Linked DNA regions of Homo sapiens: regions 2, 3, 4 and 5 are each linked to region 1. The links are contacts of gene promoters, found by promoter capture Hi-C in blood cells and fetal thymus (Javierre and others, 2016). All regions are on one chromosome and are shown on one strand. Each heading gives the region's core, a stretch centred on a gene start or on the middle of the fragment in contact. The rest is flanking DNA. Distances are from core to core; before and after follow the strand shown. Region 1 holds the start of PTPRG (protein tyrosine phosphatase receptor type G). Region 2 overlaps FHIT (fragile histidine triad diadenosine triphosphatase). Region 3 overlaps FHIT (fragile histidine triad diadenosine triphosphatase). Region 4 overlaps FHIT (fragile histidine triad diadenosine triphosphatase). Region 5 overlaps FHIT (fragile histidine triad diadenosine triphosphatase).

Region 1 (5,340 bases), core at 1,444-3,943:
ACAAAGCTCAACCCCTGTGTGCACCTGAGCCCGCTCAGTCGTCAAGTCCGTGGTAAAGCAGGGGAGACTAGAAAGGAGAGATGATTAACCCAAATACTGAGCAGTGATCTTTTAGTGAATGAAGGCAGCTGTTTCTAAGGGGAGATGTCCCCATGGCCTACACTACCGTAGAGGCCGTAGAGGCAGGACTCCAGTGGGCAAACCCCAGGCCCCAGTGTCCTACCGTAGAGGCAGGACTCCAGTGGGCAAACCCCAGGGTGAGTGTGGACGCACGTCCTAGCTCGGCCTCCGAGCTGCGTTTCTGGGCTGGAGCTCCGTGCCGCTCCGCGGGCAGGAGGATGCGCAGAGAGAAAAGGGGGTGCAGAATACCAGACGGTGTTTTCCCTTTCTGCCCCTCGAGGCCATCCCCGATTCTGCAAAGGGGGCATTCGCTGCCAGTCCCCCGAGGGGATCCCCAAGGGCGACGAGGGCTCCCGCGCGCCCTGCTCCGGGTCGCACGACGGGACTAAGGGACCCGCTGCACCAAAAACGGGCGCTCCAGCCGCCCGAGGACAGGCGTCTGTAACCAGGCAGAGCGGAGACCTCGGGGCACATTCCTCTTTTTCTTGATTCAGATAACCTCCACCTCCGGGTATGCAGGAGTTGATGGATGAGAGGGCAGAAAAACGGGGAATTCTCTGTCCTTAGGGGAGCGAGGGATGAAAAGCAAATCACCCCTTCTTCCAGCCCTTCCCCGGGCTAGGGCAGGACTTGGCCTCCACCCCAAGGGACAGCTACGAGGGAGCTCGGGGCTGCTGCCCGGGGGACCTGCAAGAGAGGAGAGGGAGGCAGCTGGCCTCTGCCCTCCCCAGGGGAGAGAGGAGGGGGAACTGCCAGCTGAGAGCTGGAAGTGGAGGGTCGCCGAGCCGCACACCGTTACGTGCGGTGATTTATTCTTATCAACGGCCAGTATTGTTCCTGTCTTAACCTGGCCAGAAAGGAGCGAGACTGGGTCTGCCAGCCGCGAACAGCCTGCAAAAGGGCAAAGATGAAGGTAGGCAGGGCGCGCGAGACAGGAAAAAAATCAGCCCCGGCGCGAACAGCAACCCGGCCGCCGAAACCGCCCCGGCCGCCGAAACCGCCCCCGCCCCCTCCCCGCGTCCAGACCCAGGCAATCCAATCGAGCAGAGCAGCGGAGGGAAAGGGCCACGGGCCGGGGCTAGGGGAGACACGGATCTCTCCGAAACCGCCTGCGCCCTGCCGTCTCACTGCGCCCAAGGAGGCTGCCTCACGCCGGCACCGAAGTGCTGCCCGCGCCCCAGCCCCCAGAGAGAGGGAGGACGCCCCCGACCCAGAACGCAGGCTGCTCCCCACACATCCTCAGTCCTCCGCAGCCAGCCTCCGACTTCCATTCCCCGAAACCTAGCCCTCCCAAAGGGATGGAGAACAGCAAAGCAAACCCCCACCTTCTGAGTTCCTTCAATACCCGCCAGAGCGAGGGGGCTCATCCCGGGCCCCCCAAACCCACAGAAGCATCCTTTCCATGGCCTCAGTCTCCCCAACCGCCCCACAACTCGAGTTCTCCCGATCGGCGACGAGTCAGCAAAGCAAGTCCCCCTTTCTCCCGATTCCAGCTCCCCAGGACCCCCAAAAGGGAGCGGGAGCAGACCCCCGCGTCCCCCAGCCCCCTCCCCGGCCAGCCCCTGCCTCCACCTTCCTCGACCACTAGCCTGCCTCCCTAAACATCATCCAAGCCAGCGGAGCAATCCTTTTCTCCTATCCGGGCGCCGGGCCACCCTCCACCCTCTCCAGGGTCTCCCGGACGGGCGCCGGAGCTCCGCGCCCAGGCGACAACTCCGCATCCCCAACGCGCGCCGGCCGGGGCCGCATCCCCTCGGCGGCCGGCACTCACCGGGGAAGCACACGACATAATGGAGCACGGAACTGGTGATTTTCAGGAACAAAATCCACCAACACGGTTCCAGTAACCTCCGCATGTCCGAAAACGCACATCGAAAAGAGGAAAGCAGGGAGGTAAACTTGTTGAATAAGTTCTTGCCTCCGTGCGAGCCTCCGCTAAGCCGGGGCGCTTCCCCGGCTCGCCCGCTCCACGGGCCCCCCGCGCTCGGCGGCCCGAGTCCCCTTGGAATCCGGGAAGCCGCCGAGCGCCCCCCGGAAAATCTCAAAAAGTGACCGGGAACGCAGAGCCACGCTGGGGACGATCCTCTCGGCGGAGAAAGGCTGCTTTCCGTTTAAAAAGGAGAGAGCCGATCGGGCAGGGCGCGGAGTCGGCGGCCGGCGGCGATGCCCCGGGCCTGGGGCAGGCAGGGACCGCGGGCGGCGGCGGCGAGCAGCCGAGGATCCCCAACTTGAGTCGGCAGCGCAGCACAGCCCGAGAGCCGGCGGGCGGCGGCGGGGCTGAGCGCGGCGCGGCGTCTCCGGGCTTCAGGCAGGCAGCTCCTTCCAGGGCCCCGGGAAGGAAGGAGGCATGTTTGCGAGAGGGGAAGGGGAGGGGAGAGGCAGGGGGAGCGGAGAGCCCCCCAAAATAGAAACGGCCGGAGGAAACGGAGGAAAACACAAAGGATCTCAGAGGGGCGCTGGGGCGAGGGCGCCTTCAGTCCATGCTCCTGAAAGTTGTGGCTCCGGCGCAGGCTGGGAAGGAACGAAGAGCGCGGGGCTGGAAACTGGCCATGCCTCCATACAGGAAGTAACATGTGAGCATGGATCCTGGCAGAGACTTTAAAGCCGGCGAGCGAAGGAGCGAGCGAACAGGGGGCGCGCGGTGGCGGCGGGGGCGCGCAGCCCGGGCCAGCTGGCGGCGGGCGCGCGCTCTCCGCGTTCTTAAAGCAGCCGCGCTTGGCTCCCGCCTTGCGCTGGGTCCCTCGGCTCTGCTCTCTCCGCGCGGCCTCTACTGGGACAGTTTGGGGACTGGGGGCGATTGTAGCCCGTGCGCGGAGAGAGGAGGGAGGCTGCCTTCTGGGGCCGGCTTGTTTTTTGCTGGATTCCCGTTGTTCGAGCTCTTAAAAGACGCCGCACGGTGCTCGGGTTTGGCGAGATCCTCCGCGCAGCTCGCGGATCCCGGACTTGAGGGGCCCCTCGCCCTGGCGAGGGGAAAGGGGGAGGGCGGACAGCTGCCTTTTTAAAGCGATGGGGTTTTCTGTTCGGCTTCACTGCCCTGGCATTTGCAGCGGTGAGGCTCACCGTCTGCGGCTCCTGTTCGCGCCTCCAACACAGCGCATTCCCCCGCCGGGAAACAAAGCCGAGCGGCCTTTGCACTCCGGCTACATTGAGATTTAATTTTTTTTTTTTTTCTTTTTCGGGCTTTCATTGGCCCAGTCCAAGGCTGGGGAAAGTGGGGGAGGGGAGGAATGTCGATCCCAGGATTGCGAAATCTAGCCCTTCCGAGCCCCGCATCCCCTTTCCCGGCGCCACGATGGATCGGTGGCGGAGTTTCCCCAACTCGCAGCTTCTCTGGAGAAGGTTCCCGCACCCCGGTTTGGCCGCGGGGAGGGCGCAGGAAGTGCGCCTCTTACACCCTGCAGGGTGAAAGCAGCGCCGCGGGGCCGGACTGATTTCCTGGCAGCTACCCGGGGAGCGGCTGCTTCTTTAGCAATCGGGGAGAGGCGTCCGGGGGAAATGGGAGGACTAGGCTTATCTGTAATGAGTTTTGTCCCTTGGCTCTCGGTAAGAAGATCTTTATCGCTTAGACTTCTAAGCGCCCTATTTTACATTCTTAACGCTGGGGCTAAAAGTGGGGGAGGCGGGCTTTCGAGTAAATGTGTAACTGAGCCAAGGTAATTAGCCGTTTGACATTTTTTGCCTAATTTTTCTGCCTGTGTTTCAAAGCGATCTTGACGTGGGATTGTTTTGTTTTGTTTTGAGACGGAGTCTCGCTCCGTCGCCCAGGCTGGAGTACAGTGGCTCGATTTCGGCTCACTACAACCTTCGCCTCCCGGGTTCGGGCGATTCTCCTGCCTCAGCCTCCCGAGTAGCTGGGACTACAGGCGCCCGCCACCACGCCCGGCTGATTATTTTTTTGGTGGTTTTTTTTGTTTGTTTTTTGTTTTATTTTGGTTTTTTTTGTAGAGGCGGGGTTTCACCGTTTTGGCAAGGCTGGTCTCGAACTCCTGACCTTGTGATCCGCCTGCCTCAGCCTCCCAAAGTGCTGAGATTACAGGCGTGAGCCACCGCGCATGGTTCTTGTGTTTTAAACGTGTCCCTGCTGTTTCATCCCAACACGGCAGGGTCCTCCACCCACCCAAACATCCCAACCGGATGCTAGGTTTTCAAATAAAGTACAGATGGTCGGAGATCCTCCCGTTCGATGTGATTAAGGAAGCATTTTCACACCCACACTTCCAAAAGAAAAACCTTTGAAAAGTTACGTATGGGATTACAAACTAATAAAAGCCAGGAAGTTCCTGGGGAGGGCCCTAGCTCTATCTTTAGCAGAACGGGGGTGAACACCCTCCCCCAGGGTGGGGAATGAGGCGAGTTTGTTTGCTTTGGAATGTGGTCCTTCCTGGTTTTATTGGAATCCTGACTTCTTTATAAAGGATTGCGAGGGCCATTTTTCTTGGAAGTGTTGTAATGAGGGATATTCGTTCCTCAAGTTAGATTACCCCAGCATCCCTGACTACCTTCTTAATGTCGAGTGATAAAATAGGAAAAACTCGTCAAATACTTGTGTCAGCGTCCTCAGGTGAGGTTTCCTCCTCTGTGAAATGGACAGTAAAAGCTGTCCTTTGTGGAATGCTTACTGTCTACCAGGCATTGTGCTGAATTCATGCCATAAACTGCTTGCTCATTCAACAAATGTATTGAGCACCTACTGTTTGAGGGACACACTGGGAACACAGCCTCGAACAAAAAGGGCAAGCCCCCATGCCTTATGGGAGCATACCTTCCTAAGTCCATGCTCCGTTCTCTCATGGAGTTCTTAAAATACTGCCAGCTGTGAGAATTATTTTCCCCATTTAATAGACAAGGAAACATGCTCAGAAGAGTACAATGATGGATCCTCAGCTAGTGGGCAGCAGAGCTGAGATTCTCAACCCAGGCCTGTTTGCCTCCACAGCTGTGATTCAAGGCAACAGAATAATGGCTTGAGAAGGCACCAAAATGTGGAATGTAAAAAAAGAGCTTCAGAGTCGGGGAAAACCTCATATGGGTTTGCAGAGTGAATTACCACTACCTTAGTAGTGTAGGAGGCCCCATGCTAAAACTTCACATCCAATTCGGTATGGACTGGTGACTGTCCTAGGACCCCAGGCTGAAGGTTACCCCCAAACTACCCTTGGAAGCACAATCCAGGCCCCACCAGTTCCTACAAAAGATAAAATTTTGCAAACATACATCACA
Region 2 (5,340 bases), core at 838-3,337, 1.3 Mb after region 1:
AGGAGGCGGTGTCTGATTTACATAGGGCCCAAAGATTGGTTGGACGAGGTGTGATGTTTACATAACATGCGAGGAAGCTGGATGCCCTACCCTGATCTTAAGCAAATGGCGACTTCTCCCAGCTGGCGCCATGTTGCCTGCTCGTTACTCTACATGTGGCTGGCAAAGAAAAGGGAAGATGGAGCTGCCATTTTGAGCATGCTTAGTACCAGGTAGCTTTTTCTTATTGGCACAACTGCTGGCATTCATCCATTGCAAGCTTCCAGCTTGCTTGTCTGGGTCTGCAGCTTGATTTTACAGGCTGCTCTTTGTTAGAAAAGAAAATGATTTGGCGGCTGCTTTTCATTCAAAGGAAAACCTTACGGAGGACTCCATACCCTCACTGTCTGCTAAATAATTCCTTTTTAACGCCTATATCTGCAGCTTCCAACTTCTTTATATGTCCCTCACAAAACATTTTTATGCAAATGGTTAAAAGAGAAAACCAGATCCAGAAATTAGGACCATTAATATGAAAATTGAAATTTTAAATGTTTTCACTGCTTTCTTGCTGACCACCAGGACTTCAGCAGGTAATTAAGATGTCAGCAAGATTTTTTTTAAGTAACTGAAAGTTCTAGCTGCTGTACTTATATACTTTGGATGCTTGTCCGCTCCAAATCTCATGTTGAAATGTAATCCCCATTGTTGGTTGAGTGGCCTGGTGGGAGGTGTTTGGGACATGAGGGTGGATTCCTCATGAATGGCTTGGTGTCATCCTTGCAGTAATGAGTGAGTTTGTTCTCAGTCTGTGAGTTCACATGAGATCTGGCTGTTTAAAAGAGGCTGGGACTTCCTCTACTCTCTCTCTTTCTCCCTCTCTTGCCCTGTGACATGCTGGCTCGCCTTTGTTTTCTGCCATGATTGTAAGCTCCCCAAGGCCCTCACCAGAGGCCAAACAGATGCTAGTGTTATGCTTCCTATACAGCCTACAGATCCATAGCCAAATAAACCTCTTTTCTTTAAAAATTACCCAGTCTCAGGTATTCCTTTAGAGTAATGCAAAGAGACTAATATATATGCCTTTTGCACCTTTGAAACAGAAGTTTAAAAAATATTTTTATGATTCACCTTGTTCGCTCGTGACACAAACACTATTGAGGCATCTCCATTGGCTGAGGCCAGTTCTCTCACCAGGTTTATATTTTATAGACTCTTGGGTTCTGAATGAGTACTCTGATATCTTTTGCACCTTCAGCCTCCTTTTTCTCAGCTTTGAGAAAAACGCTTGTGTGAATGCCTGGTCTTTTCACAAAATAAGCAGAGTATTTTAGACTTCATCTGCTGGACTTCCTCTGTCTCCAGAAGGAAACATTGTAGTATAAGAAATTACAAAAACAGGCCGGGTGCAGTGGCTCATGCCTGTAATCCCAGTACTTTAGGTGGCCGAGGCAGGCGGATCACGAGGTCAGGAGATCGAGGCCATCCTGGCTAACACAGTGAAACCCGGTCTCTACTAAATACACAAAAAATTAGCCAGCCTGGTGGCGGGTATCTATAGTCCCGGCTACTCAGGAGGCTGAGGCAGGAGAATGGCGTGAACCCAGGAGGCAGAGCTTGCAGTGAGCCGAGATCATGCCACTGCACTCCAGCCTGGGCGACTGAGCGAGACTCCATCTCAAAAAAAAAAAAAATTGCAAAAACAAATTCTCAAAACTACTGCTTAAACTTATCCTATTGGTCAGCTTGAAGGAGAGCAATAATTGCTGGATGTTCTTTAATTTGTAGAAACTGGCTTAATTTGTGCACACATAAAAAGAAGTCTAATTTCACAACTACAGATTGCAAGGCATTATTGTGTAGGATAGGACTGATGCCGAAAGACCACATGAGAAGATAGAATATCAGTTTAGTTTTAGTAACTGACTCTCCTTTATAAGAACTTTGACCCTCTGTAATACTATAGAACAAAATCTTCTTTCCTAAGTATGCATTTATTGATCACATATTATGTGCCAACCACTGTGCTGGTCACAGGTGTGTGTGTGTGTGTGTGTATGGCATTGACTAAGACAACATCTGTGAACTCAGGTTTCTGTGTAGTGGATATAAGATGAATGCCTACTGTCAAGTTTCCACAAGACTACCGGAAAAACCTGTTGATCAAGCAAAGCTATGATTTTAGATCTATAGGAAAAGAATATACAAGATTGAGAGAATCTGATTAGTTGCTCAAAATGGATAAATTAGGAGAGCACATTTATGGAGTTCTGGGCTTGTTCTGCATTACTTTAAGGCAGGTACTGCAAGTCAGAGAAATGATTGGAATTGGACAAGAGTTTAGACAAAGTAGTCTTGTGTTTGTGGCACAGAGAGGGTCTTGAAATAAGCCCTGGTGAGTAAGCTGATGACCTTGCTAAGTAAGTTAGTTGATTCATAGTTTTTTTTTTTTTTTCTTTTCTTCCAGAAATATTTCCCAGAGCAGGGAGCCAAGTTGTCAGTAATAATGAAAACAGTAATGAAAATATGCCTAGTTCCAAAATTTTCACAAAGGGACAAAAAATTTTTCTAGTTATCACAAATAAATGAACTTGAATCCTTAAAATATAGCCATAAGGAGTCTTTAAATAAAATGCAAAAATCTTTATTAAATGAATGAAAAGAAAGTTTCTCTTCCTTGAGACTATCATTTTTAAAAAACAGATAAATGTGGGGAAGTTTATTTTGTTATTCTAACATAATTCTGTTTGGGAATGAAAATTAAAATAGAATTTTTTTCCCTAAAGCAAAGTTATAGAACTTCCTATTGCAATTATCCATGCTAAATTTGCTGACATGAGTGTTTTCACTAAAGTCTTCAATACATAGGCTGTGCTGGGAAGGTCTGGGCCATACCTACTGTCTGGCTACTAAGGCCATGAATCTCTCTTAAAGATGTGTTTTGTAGTAGACCTGAACAGACTCATTTTAGTGGAGTCCAAGAGACTATATCTTCTGTTTTAATAGATTTGTTTTTTCTCAAATTTTTGAAAAAAGCTGTGCTACCACCTTGAATTTGGAACCACTTCTTGTTGTTGCTGTTATTGCTATGGGCATGTTTTTGTTATAGACAAGTTTTTGTTTCCATATCATTGTAAACATAGCTTATGACACATATTCTCAAATGTGCAAAGAAAAGTATAATGTTTGAGTTTATACATCCATGTAGTAAGTGTGGATCATTCATTCCATATATAAGATACATTTTTAGGTAAGCATTCAGGTAAAGGGTATTTTGTCATTTCGTTCTTCAAATATTTATTGAGTGACTGATATGTAAATGGTGATATATATATTAGGTGTTAAGGTGTTAGGGTTTTGGAGTTGGGGATTTAGTGGAAGAGAGTGGAACCAGTGCCTGCCCTCAAGGAGTTTATAATCTAGTGAGGTAGAGAAATGTTCAACCAAGAATGAGACACATAAGTTAGTATTAGAGCTCTGGTAAGTGGTGTGAAAGAGAGTTATCTGATATTATAAAATCGTGTAACCCTGTATAAGATGAACTTTCAAGCTGAACTGAGAGTAGAAGGCAGAGATGATAATGAGGCAGAGTGATTTAAGTAGAGAAAACAGATATGTAACATCCCTAAGGAGAAAGAACTAGAACTCAAAGGCTTATCATTACTGCCAAAATGTAATTTGTCATAGTTGTGTTCTTTCAATTGTCTTCGTTAAATATTAATTATTTTAATAAAAGTTATATAAGTGCATTTTAATATTTAATCTACACAAAGATGAGATACTTTTATTAATTTCTGTAAATGTTTCAGAACATTACTTTTTCTGTGATTTTAAATATTTGTGAAAACTCTTTCAATCTGTCCTTCAGGAAGACTCAGCTCTCATCTACATACTTGCCAATAGAAATAGTGTTTTCACGTTAAAGAAACAAGCTTAGAAGTTAGGAGGTACCATCATGTTAATTGCTGCCTTGTAATGGTTATTTATTGTCATTTTGTTTATTGACAGTGACTAGAATAGCAGTATGATCAGCATGATCATTATAAAAAATAATGAGGCTTTTTTCTTTTTTTTGAGACGACGGAGTCTTGCACTGTTGCTCTGGCTGGAATGCAGTGGTGTGATCTCAGCTCACTGCAGCCTCTGCCTCCCAAGTTCAAGCAATTCTCCCCCTCAGCCTCCTGAGTAGCTGGGAGGACAGGCACCCGCCACCACCCCTGGCTAATTTTTTTTGTATTTTTAGTAGAGACAGGATTTCACTATGTTGGCCAGGCTGGTCTTGAACTCCTGACCTTGTGATCCACCCGCCTCGGCCTCCCAAAGTGCTGGGATTACAGGTGTGAGCCACCATGCCTGGCTGAGGCTTTCTTTTAAACAGAAGAATTACACTTCCAATTCAATAAAATTTCCTCTAGAAGAGAATTGGATATTAATTCAAAGAAATACGAAGTTTTTATTTTACCCTATGCTTATGTAGAACATTAGAGAATTCCCCAAATCTCTAAATCTTCATTTTCCAACTAACTGAATGGCAGTGATAAAATTTCCTGTCTAAGCAAATTATTTCTCACCATAGATGTTCTCTTTATGTAAATCTTGCATTTTGAGCCTAATGTTGTAAGAAACCAGGTCTGATATGTGTAGTTTTTACTAATCCATTGTTTACCTTGTTAGAGAAACAGTGAGCAGGTTAGCTACCTAGGCGAATTGATTTGAATGGAGACAGAATTGTTAGACATACGTTAATTTGATAGCACCTTCAAGGACCAACTCAAGGGAGGCCTGATTTACCCTCATTGCCAGTCACTTGCTTTTGTTAGTAGTGGATGCAGGAGCTATCATGTTTCATTCTCAAAATCACAGTATCCGTTTGCACACGGAAAGGTGGAAGGAAGGCCTATGCAAGTGTCTGTTGAGGCATTTTCAGCTGGAGGTCTGTCTTGATTTGTAGATGCACTTCCCTCTTAACTGAGTTTTAGGATTACAGTTCTAACATTTCTGTGACTTCAAACTCAGTTTGTACAGAAGTGGCCATTCAGTGAGGTCCTCATCCTCATTAATGTTCAGAACTTCAAGAGTATTCTTTGATTAGTTTTGGGAGTCCTCGGTTTGTCCCCCTTTCTGTACCTCAAGATTTGATATGTTTTCACACCGGGGGAATTGGTAGAGTATCATTAAAGGATTCATCATTACTGCTTCCTGAAGATACCCTGTGCCCCAGATAGCCCCAGACACACACTGACTTTTCTGACATGTGATGATTTTGCTGACTATAATCTGGTCTCTATCTCTGCCTTTGCAGATCTTCTATATAATTTAAGGCCCAGCCTATGTGTCCCTGGTCTATGCAACCTTCCATTT
Region 3 (5,340 bases), core at 1,686-4,185, 1.2 Mb after region 1:
CTCCTTTACTATTGCCCTTTGGTGTTTGTACGAGTCAGGAGAGATATGGTAAGAACTTTTATTTCAAATGGTCTAAGTTCTGTGTTCACTGTCATTGAGGGGTAAAATCTGTCTCTCTCTCTGGCCAGTGGGGTTCTGTGTCTGAAATATTGTATTGCTTTTGTTGTCTTTTGTTTGTTTGATTCTTGAATCTCTACCCCTTTACCTACATAACTGACTCAGTAGTTGCCCAAAGAAACTTGTCACCTGTTGCCATTGCATCTTCTATGAAGAATCCATCCTTTGTTTACTTGCTTGGTCAAAGGAGGGGAGTCTTGCATCCTAGCTAGTCACTCATTTACACACTCACTGCTGCAAGAAATCCATTCAACCTCCTCTACAGTTGGTGGGGGTGTCTTTTACTTATAAAACACAGGATTTTTTTGTGTACGTGCCTTTGAAAAAGAATAGTGCCCTTTTCCATTTTTTTGCCTGACAAACACCTCTCCTCTCTTGAGATGCTGTTCCAATACAGCACCATCTCTGATCTGAGATTTTGTCTCGTTCAACCTATAAAGCGAATTTCTAGTTTCATCTCTTCTTTATAGCATTGTATTATAATCTATCTGTTTACTTCTCCCCACTGGACTTTCAAAGGCATGACTTGCTCATTTTTGCACCTCCAATACATAGCCCAGTACTTGGTATTTGGTGGATATCCAGTAACTGTTTATTGGATGAACGGATGAATATATCACTGAGTAGTAGGAAACAGGGAGCCATCACCAGGATGTATTACACCAGTATTCGAAATAGATAAGCTAAGCAGTGGGAGGTATATGAATTTGTGGGGAGAAAAGTAGGAATCACATGGGTCGGACGGAAGGCTTTTTCAATAATTCAGACTTAGATTTGGGTTGTGGTTGACAAAACAGGGATAAAGAGGTCAAAATGAATCGTGTTGGAGGGATATAACTTGAGCAGACATTTGTTTTGAAGGTGAAGTTGAGGCAGCTATCAGTCAGACATTCCAAGCCTGGGTCAGTGGAGACATGGTGGCTCGATTGATAAGACAGGCTGTTTGAGAAGGGAAGCTTGTGAGAAGATGTTGTGAATTTGGCTTTGGCCATATTGATTTTGAATTAAAGAACAGGTTTATTATGACTTGGTGAAGGGAAGAGAAAAGAATTTGCATGCCTATTAAATATTGCTGCTATTTATTAGTTACCTATTTCATAGGATAGCTATTGTTGCCCTCATTTTGTGGGTGCTCAGAGTGAATCTCAGTGAAGTTATATGCCTTACCCAAGGTCACAGAAAGACAGAATTAAAACCCAGGGCTCTCAGAGTCAAAGACTTGCATTTTTCCATTCTACCATAACATTCTTCTAGGCTGAATGGATCACTTCACTATTTAGTATCTGAACTCTGTGCATTATTGGCCCCAGTGCCTTCTCTCATGTTTTCTCTTTCTTAGCATTATTTTCCTTTTTCCTTGAACCTCCTTAAGTTGCCTTTGTCTTTTATAGTGCCAGCAAATTTGTACCTTCTGGAGGCTTTTCAAGATTGTTTCAGAGTGAGACTCCATCTCAAAAAAAAAAATTTTCTTGCCCCACCCATACTCAGCCTTTGACTCTTTTAGTGTTTAATAGTTTGATTAATTGTTAAGTTGTGGTCATAAATATTAAGATTATGGAGTTTAATATAAGTCCTAAAAAGCTTAGTATTTGAATATAATAGAAATGGTAGATGCACCTAATGGGGAACTTTCAAACCTGCACATTTGTATTCTTTTTCCAAAGCAGGGATCTGTCCTTTCCTTACAGAATGAAAAAAAAAAAAAGAAAAAAAAAAAAAAAGTCTTGAATGTCCTAGTGTTCTAGTGTTTGCATAATTGCTTTTCATCCCTGCTCTCTGCTAATTGCTTTTAAGGATCTCTGCTACATCCTGCATTTCCCATCATTGTTGGATTTTATTGACTTCTCTTAGAAAGCCAGCCTGATATATAAAATTCTATTATCTTGGGACCTTTGCCTGTGATGCTGTTATGCTTTTAGGGAAGACAGTGGTTGGTTCCATGAAAATGGACCTGTCTGGAATACACTGGAATTTCATAATCTATCCAGAAAAAGATAAAGCCCAGATGATAAATACCAGAACCTTTTGCTCCTGTCTCTTTGGCGAAAACAAGTGGTGTTTGGCTTGCTCTGGTGAAGGGGTCATGGGCTGTCACAGAATTCGAAAAAGATATTTTGATATTCAGGCCGGGCACAGTGGCTCACGCCTGTAATCCCAGCACTTTGGGCGGCCAAGGCGGGTGGATCACGAGGTCAAGAGATTGAGACCATCCTGGCCAACATGGTGAAACCCTGTCTCTACTGAAAATACAAAAATTAGCTGGACATGGTGGCACACACCTGTAATCTCAGCTACTTGGGAGGCTGAGGCAGGAGAATCGCTTGAACCCAGGAGGCGGAGGTTGCATTGAGCCAAGATCACACCACTGTACTCCAGCTTGGCGATAGAGCGAGGCTCCATCTCAAAAAAAAAAAAAAAAAAAAAAGATATTTTCATATTCAAGTAATAATATATTTTGGAAATCTAATTTTCTCAGTTTTGTATCCAAATATCATGAAGTCAAGCCAGTCTACTCTGTTCTGTGATGTGGAAAATCTCTGCTGTGTAATTCTCAACCATGACTCTTGGGGAAGGTTTCTTTGTACTGTGGTATAATGCATGTGATTTGGCTCACACTTCTGGAATACCTGCTGTATTCTCAGTGCTGGGCAAGTGCTGATGGGATACCACATCTGACTTAATGAGCTTTTGTTTTATGTCCTGTTGCTTGAACAAGTAGACTACAAGCCCTCAACACCTCCTATAGACAAAGAAAAACAATCTACCATTTATTGAGCATTTACAACACACATTATTTAATATAAATCTTCCATCAATTCTATGAGTTAGTTACCATTATTACTCCATTTTATAGATGAAGACAGTCAGAAAGGAGAAGAATAATTTCCCCAAAGACCTACAACTAGTGAAGACCTGAGCCAGATTATAACCCAGTTCACCTGGCTCCAAAACCAAGACTTTTGATTGATGTGCCATAAATGCAGGGGCTGGCAGAGAAATGGATAAGCACTAGAAAGTATAGACCTACCATGTTGTATCTGTGTTATCAGCCCCTTCTTTACTTAGCAATGTTTATTAGCCTTTCACTATGCTCTTTCTGAAATAAAGCTGATTTTGTTTATGTCAGAACACTATGACCTTAGCTTTTTGACCTAGGCTCACAGTAATATTTGCTCAATGATCATAATTCATTGTGATTTACGTCTTAAGAATATAAGGAACACCTGAGATCTTTGTGCCAAATTCAGAAGGAATAGAGTGGTTTTGTTTTCTTCTTTGCTTTTTTCTTCCTCATCTTCCTTCATTCTGACTGTAGTCCATCCTTGGTTTCAATTCATGGCAAGTTCACAGAACCTAGCAATAGGTTAAGGAAAGGAAACTTCTCAGCCAAATACATCTCTAGTATCAAAATCTCCAAATAGTGGCTGGAAAGGATTGTTCTCTAAAATGAGTTCTGTCTTTAGAATATTTTAATCTATTTTATGTCACAAATATGTATTAAGTGCTTGTTATGTTGAGGGTGCTAGGTGCAGTGAAGAATACCAAGCTAAGTGAAGTGAACTTTGCCTTGAAGAATGATAAGGTGCATTGCCTTCTTTCTCAAAACTTATGTGGTTCTCCAGACAGCTGGAGGATATAATAAAACACAAATTGCTAAGGCCTATCTCCTGAGTTTTGATTCCAGAGGTTTGGGTTGGAGGTCTATAGTTCGAACTTCTAACATGTTCCCAGGTGATGCTGATGCTGCTGTACATAATACAATTATGAGAGTCTTTTATCTACTGGGAGAAGGTCAGTTCTCACCTCTGAGCCAGTATGATGGAGAAGGATGGAATGCTAAAACCATTCTTGAACAACAAGGTAGTCTTATGCAAAGACTATGATGGCCATGTGATTAAGCGTTGTGAAAATTACCAGTAGAACATAGATCAATGCTTTTAAAATATGCTTTGCAATATGTTAAATATGTGTATCAATATGAAAGTATATACTACAGAGAATAATATGCCTAAGTACAACATCCACAGAATATTTTCATGTTGGATTAAGCTTCCTGGCTTTGAGTTAGGGTTGATGTCAATTGATCCTTAAGTAGTGTGTAAAACTTTGTCAAGAAATCATCATTTAATGTGTTGGGACCCATTGAAAGTGATATTGGGCCGGGCGTGGTGGCTCATGCCTGTAATTCCAGCACTTTGGGAGGCTGAGGCAGGTGGATCACCTGAAGTTGGGAGTTTGAGACCAGTCTGACCAACATAGCGAAACCCTGTCTCTACTAAAAATACAAAAAATTAGCCAGGTGTGGTGATGGGTGCCTGTAATCCCAGCTACTCAAGAATGGGTGCCTGTAATCCCAGCTACTCAAGAGGCCGAGGCAGGAGAATCGCTTGAGCTTGAACCTGGAAGGCAGAGGTTGCAGTGAGCCAAGATTATGCCACTGCATACCAGCCTGCGCGACACAGAAAAACTCCATCTCAGAAACAAACAAACAAACAAAAAACAAGTGATCTCCAGTGTTTGCCTGGGGAAGACCTGATTATTTGAAACAATCCGGAGTTTCTTAATCACTTGAGAATGCCTACATAATATTTTAGACAGATCAAAACATATCATGGACCAGAAGATCTCAAGGAAAGAAACGTAATTTGAACTAGAACCTGACTGTATTGTATGGCTCTCCTCAACAATGTGGTTTTTCACCTTATTGTTTTAAGAGCTTCATTGGTTGAATTTGTGCTGATTTCACTAGTTGTTTGGTATTGATCTATGACATGTAAAGCACCTGGCCCAGTTCTAGCCACACATTTGGCATCAAATAGATGTTCTCTGCCTGAAAGATGTGAGCAGAAGACCTAAGAGAAGTATTTGAGGTAGAATTATTATTCCAAGTTTCTGATTCATACAATTTACTCTTTCTTCCGTTTTTTTTTTTTTTTTTTTTTTTTTTTGTCTCTGTCTTCCTGCTATATAATAGCCCATTTTGTTTAATTTTCCGTAGGAAAGAATAGAAGATTTTTGTCAGTCTCAAATCAAGTATCTGGTATTCGGTTTTCTTTTGGTAGCTTCTCCCGAAAGCCTGTTAAAGCTTCTCAATAACTTGTATTGAAATAGATGTTTTATATTTCACGGTGTTCTCATTAAGCTGATGGAGTACTTTCACTCACAGCTTAGAATGGAGTGGCAGGACAATTACCTACACTAGTCTTACATTTTACTGTGGTT
Region 4 (5,340 bases), core at 1,264-3,763, 1.2 Mb after region 1:
TTGTGCCCCCTCCCTAAACCCTGTGTCCTCAATCAGATGCATTTCAGGATTAAAAAGAAAGGCTCTCACTAGGATATTTTCTTAAGAATTCTTGGCTGGGCCGGGCGCGGTGGCTCACGCCTGTAATCCCAGCACTTTGGGAGGCCGAGGCGGGTGGATCACGAGGTCAGGAGATCGAGACCATCCTGGCTAACAAGGTGAAACCCCGTCTCTACTAAAAATACAAAAAATTAGCCGGGCGCGGTGGCGGGCGCCTGTAGTCCCAGCTACTCGGGAGGCTGAGGCAGGAGAATGGCGTGAACCCGGGAAGCGGAGCTTGCAGTGAGCCGAGATTGCGCCACTGCAGTCCGCAGTCCGGCCTGGGCGACAGAGCGAGACTCCGTCTCAAAAAAAAAAAAAAAAAAAAAAAAAAAAGAATTCTTGGCTGGGCATGGTGGATCAGGCCTGTAATCCCAGCACTTTGGGAGGCTGAGGCGGGAGGATCACAAGGTCAAGAGATTGAGACCATCCTGGCCAATATGGTGAAACCCCGTCTCTACTAAAACAAAAATTAGCTGGGCGTGTTGGTGCGTGCCTGTAGTCCCAGCTATTCAGGAGGCTGAGGCATCGCCGAGATCGCACCACTGCACTCCGGCCTGGGACAGAGCAAAACTCCATTAAAAAAAAAAAAAAAAGCTTAATGGCTTTCTCTGTTGCATGTAAACAGAACTGTTTTCATATAAATGGCTCCTCCAAGGATGAACTCTATGCCTCTCCTGAACACAGCTTTCTTTAGGGGCTTATATTTCAGTCACCTGTGTATTTTTTCAACTTTCCTAGCATACTGTGAGTTTCATGATGAAAGATATTATTTTAGTAAAGTAAGAAAGGATAAACATTACATATGGAGAGAGAGATAAATGGATGGATGAACAAATCAGCCAAACAATGACAAACTAACTGTATTTCCCACTGAATTATAACCAGTGTTCTCTGGAATTCGTAGCTTTATACACACTGTCCACTTCTCTATGCCACCATTTCCAATGGGGGTATTAAAAATATCTATGTCGTGTATGGTATTATTTTAATAAATGTTTATTTCATTTTCAAAGATGGCAGAGAATAACATTATAGAGCATTTGTCCCTGGAAAAGGTAATACGTTTTAAAGGATTTTTTTAAAAATTAGCTACCAAAATCTAAAGATAAAATGTGTCATTTAAACCAGGAAAGGACAGCTTCTTTGTGTCAACTTTTTCATACATCCTGAGCTAAATTGTGAGTTTGTTTTGCATTGAAATTTTTCTTTTGCAGAGAAGTGTCATCATTTTCACAACCACAACAGATTTTAGAGCAAAATAGAAGACTCTTTTGCTGAAGGCAGCTGTGTTTTGAGAATGTGTGTGTGTATGTATGTTTGTGTTTATGAAAAATCTGTGGCAACCACATTTTACCACTGATTTTTATAATTTCTGGTGGCATTTTCTGGACTTTTCCAGAAAGTTCACACCTTGTAAACAGTATTCCAGTCTTCTAACATGAACCTTTGGTATTCACTTAACCAACTTATTAATATCTGATATTATATGTTTAAGATAATTAAAAGCTTTATTTAAATGGTAAGTCAGCAGCTCTTTGAATAGACACTATGTGTCAAGCATGGGGGCTTGTGGTGTCAAGCATGGGCTTTTGTGGGATCAAGACAGACCTAGTTACTCTACTTAAAATCTCAATAATTTAGTGGGAAAGATGGACATTAAACAAATAATTTTAAACACTATGTAACTGCAAATATGCCAAGTCCTACAAGGGGACACACAGAATATGAATGAAATAGAAGAACAGGAGCTGTCTTCTTCTGCTTCTGCATGGAAACCACTAACCACGTGTAGCTATTTAAATTTAATTTAAATTTGAATTAATTAAAAAGGAATAAAATTAAATGTTCACTTCCTCAGGCACACTACCATATTTCAGGTGCTCAGTGGTCACATGTGGCTCATGACTACCATATTGGGCAACACACATCTGGAACATTTTTATCGTTGTAGAGAGCTCTGTTTGACAGCATTGCATCTATAGGATCTGGGAAGGTCTTTCTACAGAACAGTTGATTAAGCCTAGATATGATATCTGAGCAGGCACTGACCCAGTGAAAATTTGTGATTGAGGGGAGAATAGTCCAGGCAGAAGACAGCTCCAGAATATGAAAGTAACTACAACTAACCAGTTGTCTTCACAGAATGGTATTGCTACTCCTCTATGTATGTGTACTTTAAAATGGTATAGTAGTATTTATACTTTCAATATATATTTTTTGAGACAGAGTCTCACTCACCGTGTCACCCAGGCTGGAGTGCAGTGGCGTGATCTCTGCTCACTGCAACCTCTGCCTCTTGGGTTCAAGAGATTCTTGTGCCTCAGCCTCCTGAATAGCTGGGGTTACTGGTGTACACCACCACATCTGGCTAATTTTTTTTTTTTTTTTTAAAGTAGAGATGGGGTTTTTCCTTGTTGCCCAGGGTAGTCTCGAACTCCTGAACTCAGGTGATCCTCCCACCTCAGCCTTCCAAAGTGCTAGGATTACAGGTGTGAGCCACCACACCCAGGCTATACTTTCAATATTGATGTAATGATACAAAACCAAGTTCTACTGGGTTTCTACTTAAGGATGTTACATTAAGATGTTCCTATACAGAATCATGAATCTGGCACTCACAATTATTGAAAAGCATTTAAAAATTGCTACCGTGAAAGTGTTTTTTTTGTTTTTTGTTTTTGTTTTTTTTTTTTCAAAAGGAGCAAAAGGAATGATTCTTGAAGAGCATAAAGTATTTTACCATTTTTCTCTCCCTCTTCTCATTATCATACACCACTGCTACCCTTAGAGTCTCTCCTTTCAGGCTCCAAATATTGCAGAAACCTTCCCTGACTCAACTCTTTATCATGTGCATTAACTTGGCCTGTTTCTTATTCTTAATTTATTTTGTAATATCCTGTTAACTGACTGTAGAGCAGCAAAGAAAACTGCAAGGGCTGGTTCAGTGATTAGCAGTCTCTTCTACTTAATAGACTTTTTAAAAAACACACAGCCACACAACTATTATCACGTCTCAACGTTGAGAAAATATTCTAAATGTTGGTGGAAAAATTGAGTATGCAATTTGATCTTGACTTCGGGCTGCACAGGTTTTAAAATCAAATTATTACTTGAATATGCATATTCTCTAGCTCCACGCTTGAAGTCCTTCTACATAAATGTCAATGCTTTGCCTAAGAGGCCGTGTTGTAGGTAATCTAGTATGTGTGTGTGCTTCTTTCTTCATTTTCTTAGCATATAAAAAATCTGGGGTGGAAGATCCTACTAGTCATGCCTTTAGTCTCCAAAGTTTGTTGTTATAATTCACATTAACGTGTTTTTTTTCCAAGTGATATGCTTCCCTAAATGTAAAGCTTTTAGTCCTGTTTAATGATGCAGAGTAGAATTGAGTAAAAACTTACAGAATTGCATTAGCAGCGGAGGAAATTAATTCTGGATCACCCTAAGTCATCAAATATTGTTTAAAAAAATAGAGACTTCTTACTTTAGGTTGCAAAAAGTAACTAAAACTAGACTATTTTGCCTGGCACACATTCTCAGTGGGTCTTTTAAAATGATCAGGAAAGAATTGTTTATAATTAAACTATTAATTCTCCTTTAGTTAGGTTCCTAAAAGACTTGAGATTGATAGAAATATTTCTTGGCTTAATTCTTCTGTTTTAAGCATCTGACAAGGTCAAATGTCATATATGTGTTATATGTAAGAAAAATAATTCAGAGAAATGAGGATATTCCAGTGTCATGTAAATTTCAAGAGGAACCAAAACCATTACTTTTTTAAAAAGATACATGTAGTAATTGCAATAACCAGATTCACCACATACTAGAGATTCCGCCTTCTGTGTAGCTTGTTTTAATTGACTTTTCTCTACTTCCTGAACCACCAGAACCAAGTGCCTAGGCTAAAACCTCCTTATTGGCTTTTCTGCTACCAGTCTTTCTGCCTTTAATCTTTTCTTCCATGGCTACTAGAGCTGTTTGAACCAGAAGTTTGAAATAGGAATAGGAGCGATTTAAGAATGGCATTCTGGTTAGATAGACGTTGTAAGCCGAGGGGCTTCTAATGAAGTTGCACCTTGCATTCCTCAATTGTATGTTTTTTAGGGGTGCTTTTGCCAGTAGTGACTGGACATTTTGGGGACAATTGCTGGTCTCCCTACTACCACCAAGATGAGTCTGCTTTCTCCACTGAGCTAGGGAGACGGCTTATACACTCAACCTGATCATGTCCATTTCCTGCTTTAAAAACCTTTCTTGGCTTCCCATTGTTTTTAACAGAAAGTTCTGATGTCCTAAGATGGCCTCTGAGCTCCTATGATGGTGGCTCTGCTTATTCTCTGCCTAGTCTCACACTATCGTGCCTTGCTCTCTGTACTGCAACCACACTGACCTGCTCTCATCTCAAATGTGGCAACCTTCGCATTTGATGCTGTTTCATTTATCTAGAACTTTACCAAGCCATTTTCAAATTCTTTATATCTTAGCTTCAACGTCACTTTCTCAGGTCATCCTTCTCTGACCCTATCCTTACCCAGCCTCCCCACCCAAGGACTGGGCTGTATCAGCCCTATCATCTCTCCCATGACATTTATCACAATTACAATCAGATCATGGCACACACAAATACAGAATTAATGTGTGCCTTCTCTGCTAAACTAGAGGCTGTTGAAGGCAAGGTAGGGTCTCAGTGTTAACATCAGTATGTCCATCACCCAATATTGTCTGGCACATAAAAACATTTAATATTTGTTGAATAAATAAATAAATTTCATATGATTTTAATCCAATTATTTTGACATTTTTATTTGGTAGGCTCTAGAACAGAAATGAGTCCTTCATTTGATTATGAACACACCACCAGTGGATTAAATTCATCTCTATTAACTTAAATCTTTGTAACCAGCCTAAGTCATTTGATTTCCACTCTGAATATACTGAACTCAATATCAAAAGAAACTTTAATTTCAGAGGAAGTACACTGATCATATCAGCCTCCAAATACATTTTAAAAAAAAAGTCTGTGAGAAAGTAGGAGCCATAGATAAGGAAGAAATAAAAGACATCCTAAAGCAAATTGAGAATGGAAGATAAAGGAGGCAGCTTTTTAAAAAGAGGTTAATGCATACTGAAGTAGATGTCACTAATTTTATATATTTTTGCCATCAGGAAGTAAAGAGCTTTCGATTGTTTGTTCATTGAAGTAGATCGGCCCGAACTTGTACTCATGACTCTTTTTGTCTTGGACCAATAATTTAAAAT
Region 5 (5,340 bases), core at 1,631-4,130, 1.1 Mb after region 1:
ATAAGACCTCAAACTATGAAACTTCTACAAGAAGACACTGGGGGAACTCTCCAGGACATTGGTCTTGGCAAAGATTTCTTGAGTAATACCCTACAAACACAGTTAACCAAAGCAAAAATGGACAAATGGGATAGCTTAAGTTAAAAAGCTTCTGCATAGCAAAGTAAACAAATTTGAAGAGCAAATTTGAAAGCAATTTGAAGAGACAACTCACAGAATGGGAGAAAATATTTGCAAACTATTCATCTGACAAGGGGTTAATAACCAAAATATATAAGGAGCTCAAACAATTCCATAGGAAAAAAAATCTAATAATCTGATTAAAAAATGAGCAGAGATCTGGATAGACATTTCTCAAAAGAAACATACAAATGGCAAATATATGAAAAGGTTCTCAACATAACTGATCATCAGAGAAATGCAAATCAAAACTACAGTAATATCCCAGTTAAAATGGCTTATTGAAGAGGACACAAAATAATGAAAAGATATGCAAAAGACAGGCAATAACAAGTGCTGGAGAGGACGTTGAGAAAAGTGAACTCTCATACATTGTTGGTGGGAATGTAAATTAGTACAACCACTGTGGAGGACAGTTTGGAGGTTACTCAAAAGACTAAAGAGCTACCATATGATCCAGCAAACTCGCTGCTAGGTATATACCCAAAAGAAAGGAAATCAGTGTATTGAAGAGCTATCTGTACCCCCGTGTTTATTGCAGCATTGTTCACACTAGCCAAGATTTGGAAGCAACCTAAGTGTCCCTAACAGAGGAATGGATAAAGAAAATATGATACATATACACAATGGAGTACTATTCAGCTATAAAAAAGAATGATATCTTGTCATTTGCAACAACCTGGATGGAACTGGAGGTCATTGTGTTAAGTGAAATAAGCCAGGCACAGAAAGACAAACATCACATGTTCTCACTTCTTTGTGAGAACTAAAAATTTAAAACAACTGAGCTCACGGAAAGAGAGAGTAGAAGGATTGTTACCAGAAGCTGGGAAGGGTAGTTGGGGAGGGGGAGATGGTTAATGCATACACAGATGTTGTTACATATGATGTATAAGATCTAGTATTTGATAGCATAACAGGGTGACTACAGTCAACAGTAATTTGTTGTACATTTTAAAATAGCTTAAAAATATGATAGGATTGTTTGTAACACAAAGGATAAATGCTTGAGATGATGTATATCCCATTTACCCTACGTGATTATTATGTATTGTATTCCTGCATCAAAATATCCCTTGTACCCCATAAATGTACCTACAACATATCTTATATGTACCCACAACAATTTTTTAAAAAAATGAATGCAGGGGAACCTAGAAATACCTAGTTCTTTTCCTTGAGTCAAGCCTTTTGAGCAAGAGACAAGATCTTTTAGTGAACTCAGTTCTGCCATAGTGTTGCTATGGTGGTTTTACTTGTTTACTTCTGTTTTTTCACAGGATTTCAAGGCATATTAGGATGTTATGATGATGATTCCAAACTGTGCAAATAAAGGGCAAATTACATGTTCTTCCACAAAAGGAGCTTCTGTTATCCCTCTTTGCCACACACTTGCTAGAATGGCCAAAGTAGTTGTTATTTTCTTAAAGTTAAACTGATTCGTGGATAATAATTAACAGCTGCTATCATTAACCTTTATTGTGTCAGGCCCTGTGCCAATTATTTAATCTTACCACAACAGGGTAAGGTACATATTGTGATTGTCTCCATTTTACATAAGTTAACACTGATGCCCAGAGAAGTTAAGTAAATTGCCCAAAGCCAGAGTTTCAACTGGTCTAAGTTTTTTTGATTGGAAACCATGTCTATTTTCTGGGCAACTTCTCTGGGCATGCTATAACCTCCCACATGGACAGCTTGGCAAGTTCATGCCTTATTACAGTTTGAAATGTTACACGTCCCCTTCCTTTCCCCAGTAAATGATGGGTTTCCTAGACGTTTTATTTCTCTGTTCTGAGAAGGAGAAATGGAAGGAGGAGAAAGGATGGCGGGGGAGAGGAGTAATGTGTATATTTAGTCACTATCAATGACATTTTAGGGCCAATAGGGCCAACTGAAACAGAGTTCTGCCCACAGTTAGTGTTTCATTGGTTAGCCTTATGTGATTAAATCCTTCTAAATGCAATTAAATCCTTATCAACCAAAAGAAGAAAAATTATGTTCTCTTTAGGGAAATAAGTATAGATATATCATTTTCCTTAGATTTGTGAACTATTTCTTCAGAAAACCAAAGCTGATTCCCAAGAGACAAGAAAAACAGGATTTTTTTTTCCTTCTCAACATTTACATGAAATAACACCTAAGTACTTTAAAGTGTGAACACATGTCCCATGGTACTCAATGATGTGATATATCTGTTGCCTTCTGCCACCTACAAATGAAGAAAAGATTTTGAAGAGAGTAACATCATTTTTAAACTTTCTTATTTGTGAAGTTCCCTTGCCATGCTAAAGCCTGAGGAGCCAATGCATTGCCTCCAGGTGGTGAATGTTGGGTAGAAATTAGCTGGAGCAGCTGCTCCCTCAGTGTGGCACAGCACAGAGGTGGTCAGTGCACATCAGGCTGTGACAATATGACCAGGAATACATGGAGTGATACAGAGCAGGGTTGGTTTTGTGTCGGCCTGCCTATTGGGAGGACTGTGCCATGACTGTGTAGATACAGCCAGAAAAGTCTTTTGGACTCACAAGTATTAGCCCAGTGATCTCCCTGCAGCATGCCCTCAGTGGCTCCCCAGCTGTCTTAGCCCGGTCCAGCATGGTTGGCACCTTCCTGTCTTTCCTTGTCCGCCTGGGGCCATAACCTCCTGTTTGCCACCCTCCTATGTTCTCTGTCCTGATGGGCTGAATTCTAGTCCTCCTGCTCTCCAAGCCCTTTATCCTGGCGGATCTCTTGCTTTTGCTCCTACCTCGATGCTCTTCCCTCCTCTCTTCACTACCCTGCTTTCCGCTCTCAGCTCCTGCATTAATTCCTCAGTGGTGTTCTCCCTGCCTTGGTCAGATCCTCTAATTATACATTCTTTTCACACCCCATGCCTTTCTGTCGAGGACTTGCCCTAGGTGCATTTGACATTTGGGTTCTTACAGTGTTTGGGAGAGGAGGTAGGGTTGAGTGGTTGAGCCATGGGCACTCAAGCCATACCGTTGGCTTCAAACCAAACTTGGCCACTTAGCAACCTTGCCAACTCTGTGCCTCAGTGGCTCCTCTGTAAAAGGGGAGTGATCACTGTACCTCATTCTTAAAGGTGTGGTGGAGAGTAAATGAGTTGATATTAGAACGGCAGCTGATGTCTAGAATGGGCTTACTGCATGGTAGCTCTCTTTAATATTTGATGTAATGATCATCCTTCCATTAGATTGTGAACTCCAGGCAGACAAGGGCTATAACTGTTTTTGTTGCATAACATCCCCCCGGTCCTGCTGAAATGCCTCACTCACTGTGGGGCACCCATTCAGTGTTAGTTTTTACTGTGTACCAGCACTGAGTCAGGCGAACTGAAGACTTCAACCTCGGTTTCAACCGGTAGTCTGTCATAGGATTTACAGATTCATGTAACGCTCTTGACAGGGATGGTTATAGTTTTTACCTGGCTTAAAGGGGGGCGGGGGTTCCCTTTTTTTAAAATCAATTTCAATCTTATTTGGAAGCTCAGTGTATCAAACACATTCAAAATAGAGGTGCTTTGCTTAGGAAAGAGCATGGCTTGTTTGGGATCCCCCATCCTTATCCTGCCTCTGACTGCCTCTGGAAACCTTTGCCCTAAATAATGATGGTCTGCTTTCTAAGGCTATTGGGTGAGAGACCAACTTGGAATGCTTAATAAGCAAGCATGGAAGTAACTTGCAGAAGAAAAAAGACTTCAGCCTTTTAATGTCAAAAATATCAAATAGGGAATAATTTCAAGTGGTGATGTCAGGGACAGCTGCGTTGTCTGTACAGCGTTGGAGAGAAGATCCTGCTTCGGCATAGCCTATGATTTTGAAGGCTACTCTATAGCTGCCACCTTTCATCTTAAAGAAAAAGGATTTTAATTATGACAATGAGAACAAGATGACATATTGTTTTATTAGTTGCTTAATTTTATTTAGCTGACTCACTTAGTATGGGAATGTCTCTAGGGGCTGCTGGAGAGTCTCTTTCTATAAAAGGAGAGAGATCCCAAGAGGCAGATTTGTTTAAGAGTGTTGCATAATGTGCTCTACGTCTTGGGTTTCTACCATTCTCAGGTTATGAACTGTAGAGCTGGATTTTTTTGGTAATTTTTCTAATCAAAAGGAAAATCAATAAGGCTCACTACTGAATAACATATTTAATAACTTGATAAAATAATCAGAGTTTTTGGCACTTACAGAATTAGATTAAATAAAGATTTTATTTTTCAGTGTGAAGAAAAAATTTTTATTAGTTACCATAGTGAAATGGGAAGAGTATTTTTTTGCCGTTAACGTTAAGGGAGTTTTCTTAAAGAAAGTGTTCTGTGCCAGGGTTGTTACATATGGTATTCTCTTTTGTTATTTTTTAAACTTAACCTTAAAATATATTTCCTTTAAATAGATTCCTAAGTTTGGGACTGATGACTAAGGTTCCCTTAAATTTGTACGTACTTAAGTTGATTCACTACTTCCAACATGAATTATATTCTGAACAAGGAAAGAAAAAATATTTAGCTGTTATGGGCCATCTGGCTTTAAAATGTAGAGAATTGTCTTCCAGCCTGCATCTATTTTAGAGTGACTATTGGATCAGAATTCCAATGAATCTGAAACAGTAGATTCACAAATTAAACTTTAATGCTTTGAGGATTGTAAATCACAGCACATGTGGGGTGATACATGTTTTGGGAGAGATGGATCCTCCTGACCCACATGTAAAAAATTAAAGCTGTCTGTATTCTGTGTTTATTGAATGTATTTATTTTACCAAGGTGGATCTGAATAAACAGTTTCTAGGTTTATAATATTATTGGGATTTTTTAAAACTAAAAAATTCGTTTAGTTGAATTATGCAATATAAATCCTTAGCAATATCCCCAAAAAGTTTTTCCAAAGAAGTAATATTGGTTCTTGATGTTTCCTCATGGTTCTTTTTTTTTTAACCAATATAAAAGCAAATTTTAAAAAAAGGTGTTATTTCCCTTGGAAGGAAGCTGTGATTCCCATGGTTGGTTATTAGTCCAAAGCCGTGGAACTTCTTTCCTTATAAACCTCTCATTCTGGCAAGACAGGACACTTGGACAATGATTTTCCTAATAAGTATAACCAAAAGACTTTCCCTAATTTTAATGTTTCCCAAAATAAGTCCTCATCAGATTTGCCCCCC

Evidence for each region. Contacts are between HindIII fragments. The CHiCAGO score rates a contact against its expected background, and 5 or more counts as called.
Region 2: a fragment that was not itself captured here is called in contact with the fragment with the promoter of PTPRG in region 1 in 1 of 17 cell types (neutrophils); the score reaches 6.6 in neutrophils.
Region 3: a contact is called between a fragment that was not itself captured here and the fragment with the promoter of PTPRG in region 1, in 1 of 17 cell types (neutrophils). The highest score is 5.3, in neutrophils.
Region 4: a fragment that was not itself captured here is called in contact with the fragment with the promoter of PTPRG in region 1 in 1 of 17 cell types (neutrophils); the score reaches 6.9 in neutrophils.
Region 5: a contact is called between a fragment that was not itself captured here and the fragment with the promoter of PTPRG in region 1, in 1 of 17 cell types (neutrophils). The highest score is 6.1, in neutrophils.

Annotation. Positions count from the first base shown.
Region 1 is chr3:61,558,924-61,564,263 of GRCh38, reverse strand. PTPRG (protein tyrosine phosphatase receptor type G) reads right to left here and starts at 2,693. Exons shown (of 30, transcript NM_002841.4): 1 at 1,892-2,693. The coding sequence starts at 1,976. RefSeq lists an enhancer at 3,916-4,591. The HindIII fragment of the contact is 7,216 bases long and covers 1-5,340 here.
Region 2 is chr3:60,272,325-60,277,664 of GRCh38, reverse strand. All of the region lies in intron 5 of FHIT (fragile histidine triad diadenosine triphosphatase), which reads left to right. It overlaps LOC107986015 (a long non-coding RNA gene), which reads left to right. Exons shown (of 2, transcript XR_007095935.1): 2 at 1-5,340. Among named protein-coding and RNA genes, the nearest start is that of MIR548BB, 340 kb to the left of the region's middle. The HindIII fragment of the contact is 3,652 bases long and covers 262-3,913 here.
Region 3 is chr3:60,356,480-60,361,819 of GRCh38, reverse strand. All of the region lies in intron 5 of FHIT (fragile histidine triad diadenosine triphosphatase), which reads left to right. LOC107986015 (a long non-coding RNA gene) reads left to right here and starts at 5,068. Exons shown (of 2, transcript XR_007095935.1): 1 at 5,068-5,340. The HindIII fragment of the contact is 2,469 bases long and covers 1,701-4,169 here.
Region 4 is chr3:60,372,539-60,377,878 of GRCh38, reverse strand. The region is part of intron 5 of FHIT (fragile histidine triad diadenosine triphosphatase); the gene reads left to right. Among named protein-coding and RNA genes, the nearest start is that of MIR548BB, 240 kb to the left of the region's middle. The HindIII fragment of the contact is 1,847 bases long and covers 1,590-3,436 here.
Region 5 is chr3:60,460,190-60,465,529 of GRCh38, reverse strand. All of the region lies in intron 5 of FHIT (fragile histidine triad diadenosine triphosphatase), which reads left to right. Among named protein-coding and RNA genes, the nearest start is that of MIR548BB, 160 kb to the left of the region's middle. The HindIII fragment of the contact is 5,459 bases long and covers 151-5,340 here.